Regions from separate parts of the Homo sapiens genome. Here all the other regions are linked to region 1. Evidence: promoter capture Hi-C in 16 types of primary human blood cells and fetal thymus (Javierre and others, 2016). All regions are on one chromosome and are shown on one strand. Each heading gives the region's core, a stretch centred on a gene start or on the middle of the fragment in contact. The rest is flanking DNA. Distances are from core to core; before and after follow the strand shown.

What was found. The method cuts DNA at HindIII sites, captures the fragments that hold promoters and counts their contacts. A CHiCAGO score of 5 or more calls a contact.
Region 2: a contact is called between a fragment that was not itself captured here and the fragment with the promoter of CAPN9 in region 1, in 1 of 17 cell types (naive B cells). The highest score is 5.2, in naive B cells.
Region 3: a fragment that was not itself captured here is called in contact with the fragment with the promoter of CAPN9 in region 1 in 1 of 17 cell types (endothelial precursors); the score reaches 5.0 in endothelial precursors.

Annotation. Positions count from the first base shown.
Region 1 is chr1:230,745,699-230,748,899 of GRCh38, forward strand. CAPN9 (calpain 9) reads left to right here and starts at 1,690. Exons shown (of 20, transcript NM_006615.3): 1 at 1,690-2,011. The coding sequence starts at 1,799. The HindIII fragment of the contact is 4,090 bases long and covers 1-2,150 here.
Region 2 is chr1:231,206,642-231,209,842 of GRCh38, forward strand. It overlaps TRIM67 (tripartite motif containing 67), which reads left to right. Exons shown (of 10, transcript NM_001004342.5): 7 at 11-149; 8 at 2,306-2,609. Among named protein-coding and RNA genes, the nearest start is that of TRIM67-AS1, 21 kb to the left of the region's middle. The HindIII fragment of the contact is 2,858 bases long and covers 88-2,945 here.
Region 3 is chr1:231,184,036-231,187,236 of GRCh38, forward strand. All of the region lies in intron 1 of TRIM67 (tripartite motif containing 67), which reads left to right. It overlaps TRIM67-AS1 (TRIM67 antisense RNA 1), which reads right to left. Exons shown (of 3, transcript NR_166514.1): 2 at 2,041-2,138; 3 at 63-1,201. Among named protein-coding and RNA genes, the nearest start is that of TRIM67-AS1, 2.0 kb to the right of the region's middle. RefSeq lists an enhancer at 1-308. The HindIII fragment of the contact is 2,612 bases long and covers 232-2,843 here.

The DNA of each region.
Region 1 (3,201 bases), core at 440-2,939:
AGAGGCCCCACTTTCTAATACCATTACCTTGCAGGGTATGGGTTCAACATACAAATTTTGGCGGGGTCGGGGGGGTGGTGCGGAATACAAGCAATCAGGCCATAGCAGAGTAAAACCCAAATATCCCCAACTCTAATGTCTAGACCTCCCCTGTAAAACCATATGCAGGATCTACTAGACAGAACGTGTGTCAGACTGAGTGCACACTCCTGGGAACTGTGAGCTTATATAAAAATTCACATCATGGCCTTTTAACTGTACCCATTAACTCAAGACCCCTTGTCTCCAAACCTCAACTTTGACTAGTTAGAGAATCACACAGAAATCATTATAAAGTGCTTAGAACATCAGAGTTTTCACGTGGTGACTAATACTTTTATTGACTTATTTTTATTGATACATAATATTTGTACGTATTGATGGGGTACATGTGCTATTTTGTTACATGTGCAGAATGTGTGATATCGAGTTGGGGTATTTAGGCTATCTATCCCCTCCAGTATTTATCATTTCTTTTCTTCTTTCCTTCTCTCTCTCTCTTTTCTTTCTCTCTCTCTCTCTTTTTTCTTTTTTTTTTTTTTTTTTTTTTGACAGAGTCTCTCTCTGTCACCCAGGCTAGAGGGCAGTGGCACGACCTCAGTTCACTGCAACCTCCACCTCCCAGGTTCAAGGGATTCTCCTGCCTCAGCCTCCCAAGTAGCTGGGATTACAAGCATCCGCCACCACACCGGGCTAATTTTTTGTATTTTTAGTAGAGACAGGGTTTCATGATGTTGGCCAGACTGGTCTTGATCTCCTGACCTCGGGTGATCAACCCTCCTCGGCCTCCCAAAGTGCTGGGATTACAGGTGTGAGCCACCACACCCAGCCTGTATAATCATTTCTATGGGCAAACACATTTATCAAACCACCTCCATCCTCTAACATTTGTTTTTTCTCAGACGTGAGATCCTATTTGTAGGACTATAACAACAAGGAACTTTATTAATATGATGTCTAGAGAATGAAAGAGGCACATGTGCCCTAGAGGAAGAGCCGATGTCCTCTGTGAGTTCTCCTCTATCAGGGGTCAGGTTGGATGAAATCTAACCCCCACCTGCCTTTGTAAATAAAGTTTTATTGGAACACAGCCACACCCATTCATCTGTGTCACATCTACGGCTGCTTTGTCACTACAACAGCAAAGTTGAGTAGTTGCAGCACAGACTTTGCGTGGCCCACAAAGCTGAAAATATTCATGGTCTGGGCCTTTACAGAAAAGGTTTGCTGACCCCAGTGCTGAATCACTATGGGATTGCCTGTGCAGGAGCTGTGCCAGCTGTGTTCACATAATGCATCCTGCTTTCATTCACCAACCTCCCTTCCGACTACAAAACTCTGCCATTCTCTGATGCAGGAGATGGGACTCAAGACCACACCGTGCACTTCTCCGTAAAGCCACCTCCTGGACCAGTTGGGTTTCTTGCTCCTTTTCCTTCTGAAGCAATCCTCTCTCTCCCATGAGGCCCCCTGAGCGCACTAAGCAGAGGTGCCGCCTCTGAGTGGAATGTGCCAGGCCCCAGAGCTGCCTCTGAGTCTGCAGGAGTGCAGAGTGGGCAGAGGGCTCTCTCTGCTGTTTTCCATCAGGGCGTGTCCCATCTCAGTCTAACAGGGAGGTGCCCAGAAAATAGGTGGAGGTGAGGGCCACTCAGCCCAGTGGCCCTCTGAGCTGTTCCTTCTTGACCGGCACACACAGCTCGCTTCTTCACTTTCTTTTCCATCCACTGCCGGACCCAAGCCAGCCTTCCAGGGAGCAGCCATGCCTTACCTCTACCGGGCCCCAGGGCCTCAGGCACACCCGGTTCCCAAGGACGCCCGGATCACCCACTCCTCAGGCCAGAGCTTTGAGCAAATGAGGCAGGAGTGCCTGCAGAGAGGCACCCTGTTTGAGGATGCAGACTTCCCAGCCAGCAATTCCTCCCTGTTCTACAGTGAGAGGCCGCAGATCCCCTTTGTGTGGAAACGACCAGGGGTGAGTGGGGCGAGCAGGGGAAGGAGCATAGATGAGGCCGAGGTTCAGCAGCCCCCGCAGGAAGTGGAAACAGGGGTGCTGGGGAGGGGCCGGCTACGCTCAGTGCAACTGAGGTGCATCATCCCAGTCTACCGTGGAAAGCTTTGCAGTTTGGAGGCAGAAAATAATGTACAGGCCTGGGATGCTCTGCGGTGGGGACCCGGGGCATCTGGTTGTACCCGCTCCCCGGCTCCAAGCTGTCTGACTCCCACCGAGGCTGAGGACCTGGAGTCAGAGTGGGTCTTGTCAGCAGGTGATAGGCACGAATCAAAACCTTATCCACAAGGACAGGCCCCCACCCTGTGTGTGGTAACACTGAGATCACGTTATGCACAGTGTTCTGTGGCTTCTGGCCCAGAGCTGAGGGTGCTCAGTGTGGATGGATGTTTGGCTCAGCAAGGTCTCAGCAACCGGGTGACAGATGGAATACAAGGGAAGCAGGAATCTTCTCCCGAGAACCATGCACCCCCCATTCCCAGAGATCAGGGTGAACAGTGCCCCACCTCTGACAGTCTGGAGGTGTCGTCCCAAGAGGCACCAGCTGGTCACTGGGTCCCAAGAGGTGCTAGCTTGTGCCTGGGACGCCATGTCAATATTTGCGGTGCTGGATTAGTCAGGGCTCTACCTCTGACCCGGCGCCAGCTGGGCTGGCTTCCATTCCCTCCAGGTGGGTACGGGCCTGGGAGTGGCTCCTGTGGGGTCCGGTTGCTTTTGGGCAAGGAGGGGCAGTACAAGGGATGCTGGTCCTACAAGTGAGATCCTGAGTGCCTGTCTTATCCTGACAATTTGTCTCATGCATATAGTCATATCACTTCATTTCCCTGAGCCTCAGTCTCCTCACCTGTAAAATGGGAACAATAATGGCTAATGCAGGCCAATGTCTAGCACACAGAAGGTTTCCAGTACATTACAGCTATTGTCACATTATTACTATTACTGATACTATTATTATCATCATTACAATGATTATTAGCTCTGAGTCTCATCTTACATATGAGTAGCAAAGGACTCATCATAACTACCTCCTCACTATCTCCCAACATTAAAATAATGTTGATGATTAAAAACAATTTTTTTTAACGCACATTCACAAAACTTCTGGGCTCTTCAGGGGCAGGGCCAAAGTGAACCTAAGTGGGTGTTTCCGAAGT
Region 2 (3,201 bases), core at 267-2,766, 460 kb after region 1:
TCTCTTTCAGGAAGTGTACGTCGGTAAGGAGACTTTGTGTACCATCGACGGTCTTCACTTCAACAGCACCTACAACGCCCGAGTCAAAGCTTTCAACTCTTCTGGTGTCGGGCCTTACAGTAAAACTGTCGTCCTGCAGACATCCGATGGTGAGCATCGGGATCTCTTAGTGGGAAGAACAGATTCATCATTTTATCCAGTGACAACCAGACAGCCACTTGTGGCAGCTATGATGATGGGGTAGGGGTGGGGGGTGGTGCTGGGCACGGCTGGGTTCTCCAAGGGCGTGCCCTTCTGGGACCACAGGCGGGCTCCCAAAGGACAAAGATTGACTCCTAGGGCCAACCCACATTTCATCCCGTGGACCAGGGGAAAGGATGAGCTGCTGAAGATGGGGGAGGGAGGAAGTGCAGGGCCGGAGGGGCCGGTTGAGGTGCATACGCCTCACCCTGCTCTGCACACACAGCTCTTTGCTGCACCCACATGGCCTACAAGCCACGAAAGAAACATTCATTTACCCCATTGTGCTGGACTAAATGTGAAGTAGCTAAGGGAGGCTAAACTTCTCCCACTTCTCAAGGGCTGAGGAGTGAGTAGGACAGTCCCAGACAAGAAAACTCCACGATAGATGCAGTGGGCCCACACCAGTCCCTACATTTGAGCCTTTCTCACAGCGGAAAAGTGCCCTTTAATCCCCAGCATCAGAGCTCACATCCAGTGATTTATACACCTACCTGCAGCCTTTTAGGTCTTGGGCAACAACAGCATGTTGATATTAATTCAGTGGAATTTTGATCATCTGAGTTCTTAGCAGAGAGCAATGAGAGAAATAGGAATCACATTCCAAAGAGAGTTCTGCTCCCCCAGGTGTGGCCCAGCCCAGGCTGCAGAGGCAGTTTCCAGCTCCCCACTGCCTCCAAGAAGAGGGCAAATCGTGCATTCATTGTTATCATTTAGTCCACACATCCTCTGACTGCCACAGCTGGATGGTCTCCTAGAGGCAGGGAGGAGTAGGAGCATGAGCAGATGCTGGTGTCAAAAGGCCCAGCCAGGGACACTTTTCTGAAAATGATGCCACCTGCAGAGTCACTTTGTACACCCCTAGAGGAGAGCTCGCTAGCTTCTGCCTCTAGACTCTCCTGCCTGCCCAGAGATGAGCGGTCCTTGCCCTGTGCATTGTGGTCATGACTTTAGAGTAAGGGACTCACTTCTATCAACCTGGGGGGTTGGGGAGCAAAAGGGGGCACCACCTGATGGGCTGCAAAATGGAGAATTGAGCTTTGTGATTTTGGCCACATCACTTCACCTCTCTGTGTCTCAAATCTCCCACCCATGAGGTGGCTCATCAATATCGATTTCCTCCTGTACTTTTTTTTTTTTTTTTTTGAGATGAAGTCCCACTCTGTTGCCCAGGCTGGAGTGCAATGGCACAATCTTGGCTCACTGCAACCTCTGCCAACCTGTTCAAGTGATTGTCCTGCCTCAGCCTCCCAAGCAGCTGGGACTATAGGCGCCCACCACCATGTCCAGCGAATTTTTTTTTTTTTTTTGAGACAGAGTCTTGATCTGTCGCCCAAGCTGGAGTGTAGTGGCGTGATCATGGCTCACTGCAAGCTCTGTCTCCCAGGTTCACACCTTTCTCCTGCCTCAGCCTCCCGAGTGGCTGGGACTACAGGCACCTGCCACCACGCCCGGCTAATTTTTTTGTATTTTTAGTAGAGACAGGGTTTCACTGTGTTAGCCAGGATGGTCTTGATCTCCTGACCTCGTGATCCTCCCGCCTCGGCCTCCCAAAGTGCTGGGATTACAGGTGTGAACCACCATGCCCGGCCACGAATTTTTGTATTTTTAGTAGAGACGGAGTTTAACCATGCTGGCCAGGCTGGTCTCAAACCGCTGACCTGAGGTGATCCACCCACCTCGGCTTCCCAAAGTGCTGGGATTACAGGCGTGGACCACTGCTCCCAGGCTATTTCCTCCTGTATTTCTAACTGTGAGCATTTGGAAGGGTTTTAGAAACCAAGACCAGAAAATGCATCTAGATTTGAGGTTTTGAGGCCTGAAAATCCTTGGCAAGGCCAGGCTCGTAGGGCTGGCAACTTGGATGAACACAGAGCAGGGAGTGTGTGCATGTGTGTACGTTTGTGTGTGTGTGCACGTGTGTGGTAATCATACAGGAAAGACCCTTCACTTCTGGGTGCCGACTTTCTAACAGAAGCGAATGTGTTTGTGTCTCTGAGCCGGTTAGAAACTACTAGCAAATTCCATCCCCTGACCCTGCTCCTCTCACCTCCTCCCTTTTTAGTGGCCTGGTTCACATTTGACCCCAACTCTGGGCATCGGGACATCATTTTATCCAATGACAACCAGACAGCCACCTGCAGCAGCTATGACGACCGGGTGGTGCTGGGCACAGCTGCGTTCTCCAAGGGCGTGCACTACTGGGAGCTGCACGTGGACCGGTACGACAACCACCCAGACCCCGCCTTCGGGGTGGCCAGGGCCAGCGTGGTCAAGGACATGATGCTGGGCAAGGATGACAAGGCCTGGGCCATGTATGTGGACAACAACCGCAGCTGGTTCATGCACTGCAACTCCCACACCAACAGGTGCGATTGGGCCCCATCCTGCCTCCCGTGGACACAGGTTGTTTGGGAATGAGGGTCCTGAAGACCAGTGTCCCTTCTGCTGTCCCCAAAGCCAGGAGGAATTGAGAGGAGGTATTTTCAGCCACTTTGGTCTCCATTTTCTAGGAGGCCTTCACTCTGCCCATATAGAACTGGCCTGCAGCCCAGATGAGGGTATGTTATGGTGACTCTCACAGCACCCGCACAGATGGGTCTCCCAAGTTACCCAGCGGGCCACACGGTGGTCCTCTGCTGGGATATGGAGCTCGTAGTTTTCTTTCTGGTACGGCTTCACTTTCCTTTTCAACTGTCAACCCAAGCTTGGGTTGCTGCAGGGTGTTAATGGGCACCACTGGGGCTGGTGTCCTCACAGCTGTGACCAGGTCATTGCCACTAACTTGCCTGCAGTGATCCTGGCCACTGCCCTGGTCTCATGTGGGCTTGAGCCTCGGCAGGGCCGGGCCCTTGACAGGGCAGTAGCAGAGGGCATGGCTGGGGTGCTCACTACTAACGAGCCTGCCAAGGGTGCCCACAGCTGTGGCTTTGCCCTGAGACTGGCCCTGGGAGTAGGGTC
Region 3 (3,201 bases), core at 288-2,787, 440 kb after region 1:
TTCCAAGGAGTTATCATCCTGCTGGCCTCGAATAGGGTGTTAACGAATCCACTGAAAAGGAATGTTTTTAAAAAGAGTCTTTATTCCAACCAGCAGTTTGCCAACTGGGGAGACTCAGCCTTCAGTATAAAACAAAGGCACGTCTGCCAGAACAAAGAGAAGGGCTATCCTGCATAGAAAAAGTTTCTGCTTAGATTCTAATCCCAGTTCCCATTGCATCTGAGGGATGCAAGCTTGTTCAGTTCTGATTTGCTGATGTTAAAGTTGACCACGGGTCACATTTCATTGGTCAGGTTCAGGTGGTAGAATGAGGACGTCGGCAGCAGTTGATTCTGGCAGTGTGAGCAGGAACAGACAGCTAAGAAGGCCCCAACATTGAGCTACTGTTCGGCTTGCACAGGGCATGTAGGGAACCTGCAGTAGGCAAATGGCTTTCAGCGCCACTCAGAATTCAGACCCGGATAGCCCCTCAGGATCCATCTCGAAGGGCTGGCTCTCTCAGGGTTCACACAGGCATGTGCCTACCCCTTGTCAGGGTGAAGGCAGTGGTACTGGAGTCCTAATTCCAGCCCTACCAGGCTGTGCTCAGTGGAGAAAAGGCAACTTCTCAAAGCAAAATTGGGATACTGTTATAGAGGATAATGGAAGGTCAACAGCAGAAAAACAATGGTCCCTGCAGCTGTCGGGGAAGCTCTCTCTGGGGTTCTCATTCTACCGAGAACCACCATGAGTAGAGTGCCAGTCCCTGAACCCAGGGCCTTCCATGCACACCATCATTAAACCTTGAGGCAGGCCTTTGGGGTGGGTATCATCACCCCAATTCACACGTGAGGACACGAAGTCTCACAGAGGGCAAGAAACTAGGTCACGTAAAATTAGGGTTTGAATTCAGGGCCCAACCCTGAAGCCCAGCTCTAAGGGTTGCTGGATAAACACCCAGCAGTGCTCCTGAATGGGTGGCCGGCAGGTTGGGGAGGGTCAGCTTATTCTGCTTGCAGGGCCTAGGCTAGTGTGGAGCTGAGCTGGTGCCTGGACTTCCAGAGAGCAGGGCACTTCGGTCACCATCTGCTGGCTCCTAAATCCGAGTTGCTGGCTCAATGGGAAGTGTGTGTTGTCCAGCCAGCCAGCCTGTACTCCACGGCGTCCATTCCTGCACCTTCCACCCTTCTCAGGATTCCCAGAGCCTTTATCTGAAAACTCCCTGTGAGAAAGGAGTCTCCCCTCACCCCTGGACCAGCTCTCCCTCCCACCCTCCTACACTGGAGGGATCTGAGAAAAGAAAAGGAAGGAAAGTCAGAAGGGAGAATGGCTCTTGTTTTCCTCATCTGAAGTGGGGAAGAATCTAAAACAACCCAAACAAGTGGAACCCAGGAGCTCCCACCACGGCGGGACCCCCAGGAAGTCTGTGTTCCAGCCCCCAGTGCAGGACCAGGGAGTGAGCCGGGATGAACAGGCAGCGAGGGGAGGCCACATCGAGAGTGAGAAGTGGGATCCCTAGTAGGAGACACAGAGGATGCCTTGGGCTGCAGCACTGGGACCTTTGCCTAGGGGAGCCCAGACGCGTCCTGCCCTTTTGCAGCTCCCCAGAGCACACAGCACGAAATCAGTGAATTCAGAAGACACTGTTGAGTGCCCGTTCTGCACAGGCTCTGTACTAGGGACACAAAGATGATTGAACGGCTCACTCTGGAAGTCCTGATCTAGTGAGGGACACGGTCAAGTAGATAAGTAACTAAGACCTCAGACAGATGATGGCGAGGGCCACAGTCGGAGGTAAGCGAGAGGTGATGGCAGAACAGAGATGAACCACAAAGTTCATGGAGTCTGGGGGGAAGACTTCGTGGAAAAGGAGGATTTGAGTTGGACGTGGGCAAGCTGAGCTAGGACTGGAGATGAGTGTGATAAACGGCCGTGACAGCCGGGACAAGGGCTCATAACTAGAGGAGACGAGAAGGAGGTGGGTCTTCTGGAAGATAGGTGCTTGGGTTGCAGATTTTCCCAGGGAAAAAGAAGGGGATGTTCCCCGTGAGCAGAACTCACCTCTCTCCTGATAGGCGGCTGGCAGTCGCTTGCTGAATGAATACATCGGTGAATGGATGAAGGGCTTGACAGCCAGGCTGAGGCGCTCCCTCTTTGTTCTGCATGAATCACAGCAGTGGAACTCTTGAGCCCAAAGGGCCAGAAGGAGAGACAAGAGTACATTCTGGCAAAAGCAGGATTTCTTCCTGAAGGAGGAGCACATCTCTAGTTGGAACAGGACAAATCGGGCCTGACCTGGATTCCTGGTTTCAGCAGCGCATCCGTGGACCTCCTTTTAGTCCCTCTGTATTCTTTGCTAGGGTTGCCAGAGCAAAGTACCACAAACTGGGTGGCTTAGAACCACAGAAATATATCGTCTCACTGTTCTGGAAGCCAGAAGACTGAAATCAGGGTGTCGGCAGGGCTATGCTGCCCCTGAGGGCTCTGGGAAGGACCTGCTCCGGCCTCTCTCCCAGCTCCTTGTAGATCCTTGGCAGCATAACTCCAATCTTCACGTGGTGCTTTCCCTAGCACCTGTCTGTCTCTATGTCCAAATCTCCCCTCTTCATAAGGACACCAGTCCTGCTGGATTAGGGCCCACCCTAATGACCTCATTCTAACTGAATCATCTCTTCAAGTACAGTCACATTCTGAGGTGCTGGGGGTTAGGACTTCAATGTCTAAATTTTGGGGGACACAATTCAGTCCGTCGCCCTTCCCCTGAGGCTGGTCCAGGATACAGGCTTGCATTGAGCAGTATCTCCAACCATTTGAAAATGCCAGGCAGCCTTCCCCAGCCCAGCACCCCAGAGGCCTAAAATGAAAGCTTGGATGATGGGAAGGTGCTTCTCAGGCTGTCTGGGCAGCTTTCATCTTCCTGCTAGAGGAAGGGGACTGCTTTACCCGCACATCCCACGACATCCACGGCTGCCTCATCAGCAAGGCTAATGAGGATGCCCATCTCACAAGCATATGGATCTCGACCAGGAGATCAATCTAAGTCTAAAAACAGAAAGCTGAAAGCTTCCCAGGCAATGGTGTGACCAGGAAGTCGTAGCTGTGTTGTTGGATCCCTCTTTATATTTCACCTGGGAAGACAGCGTTTAAGAAGATGAAGGAAAATAGCCACATTTAAGCAACAAGGGGCAAGAAAGAAGATGCAGGGAAAAGACCTGCCTCTGT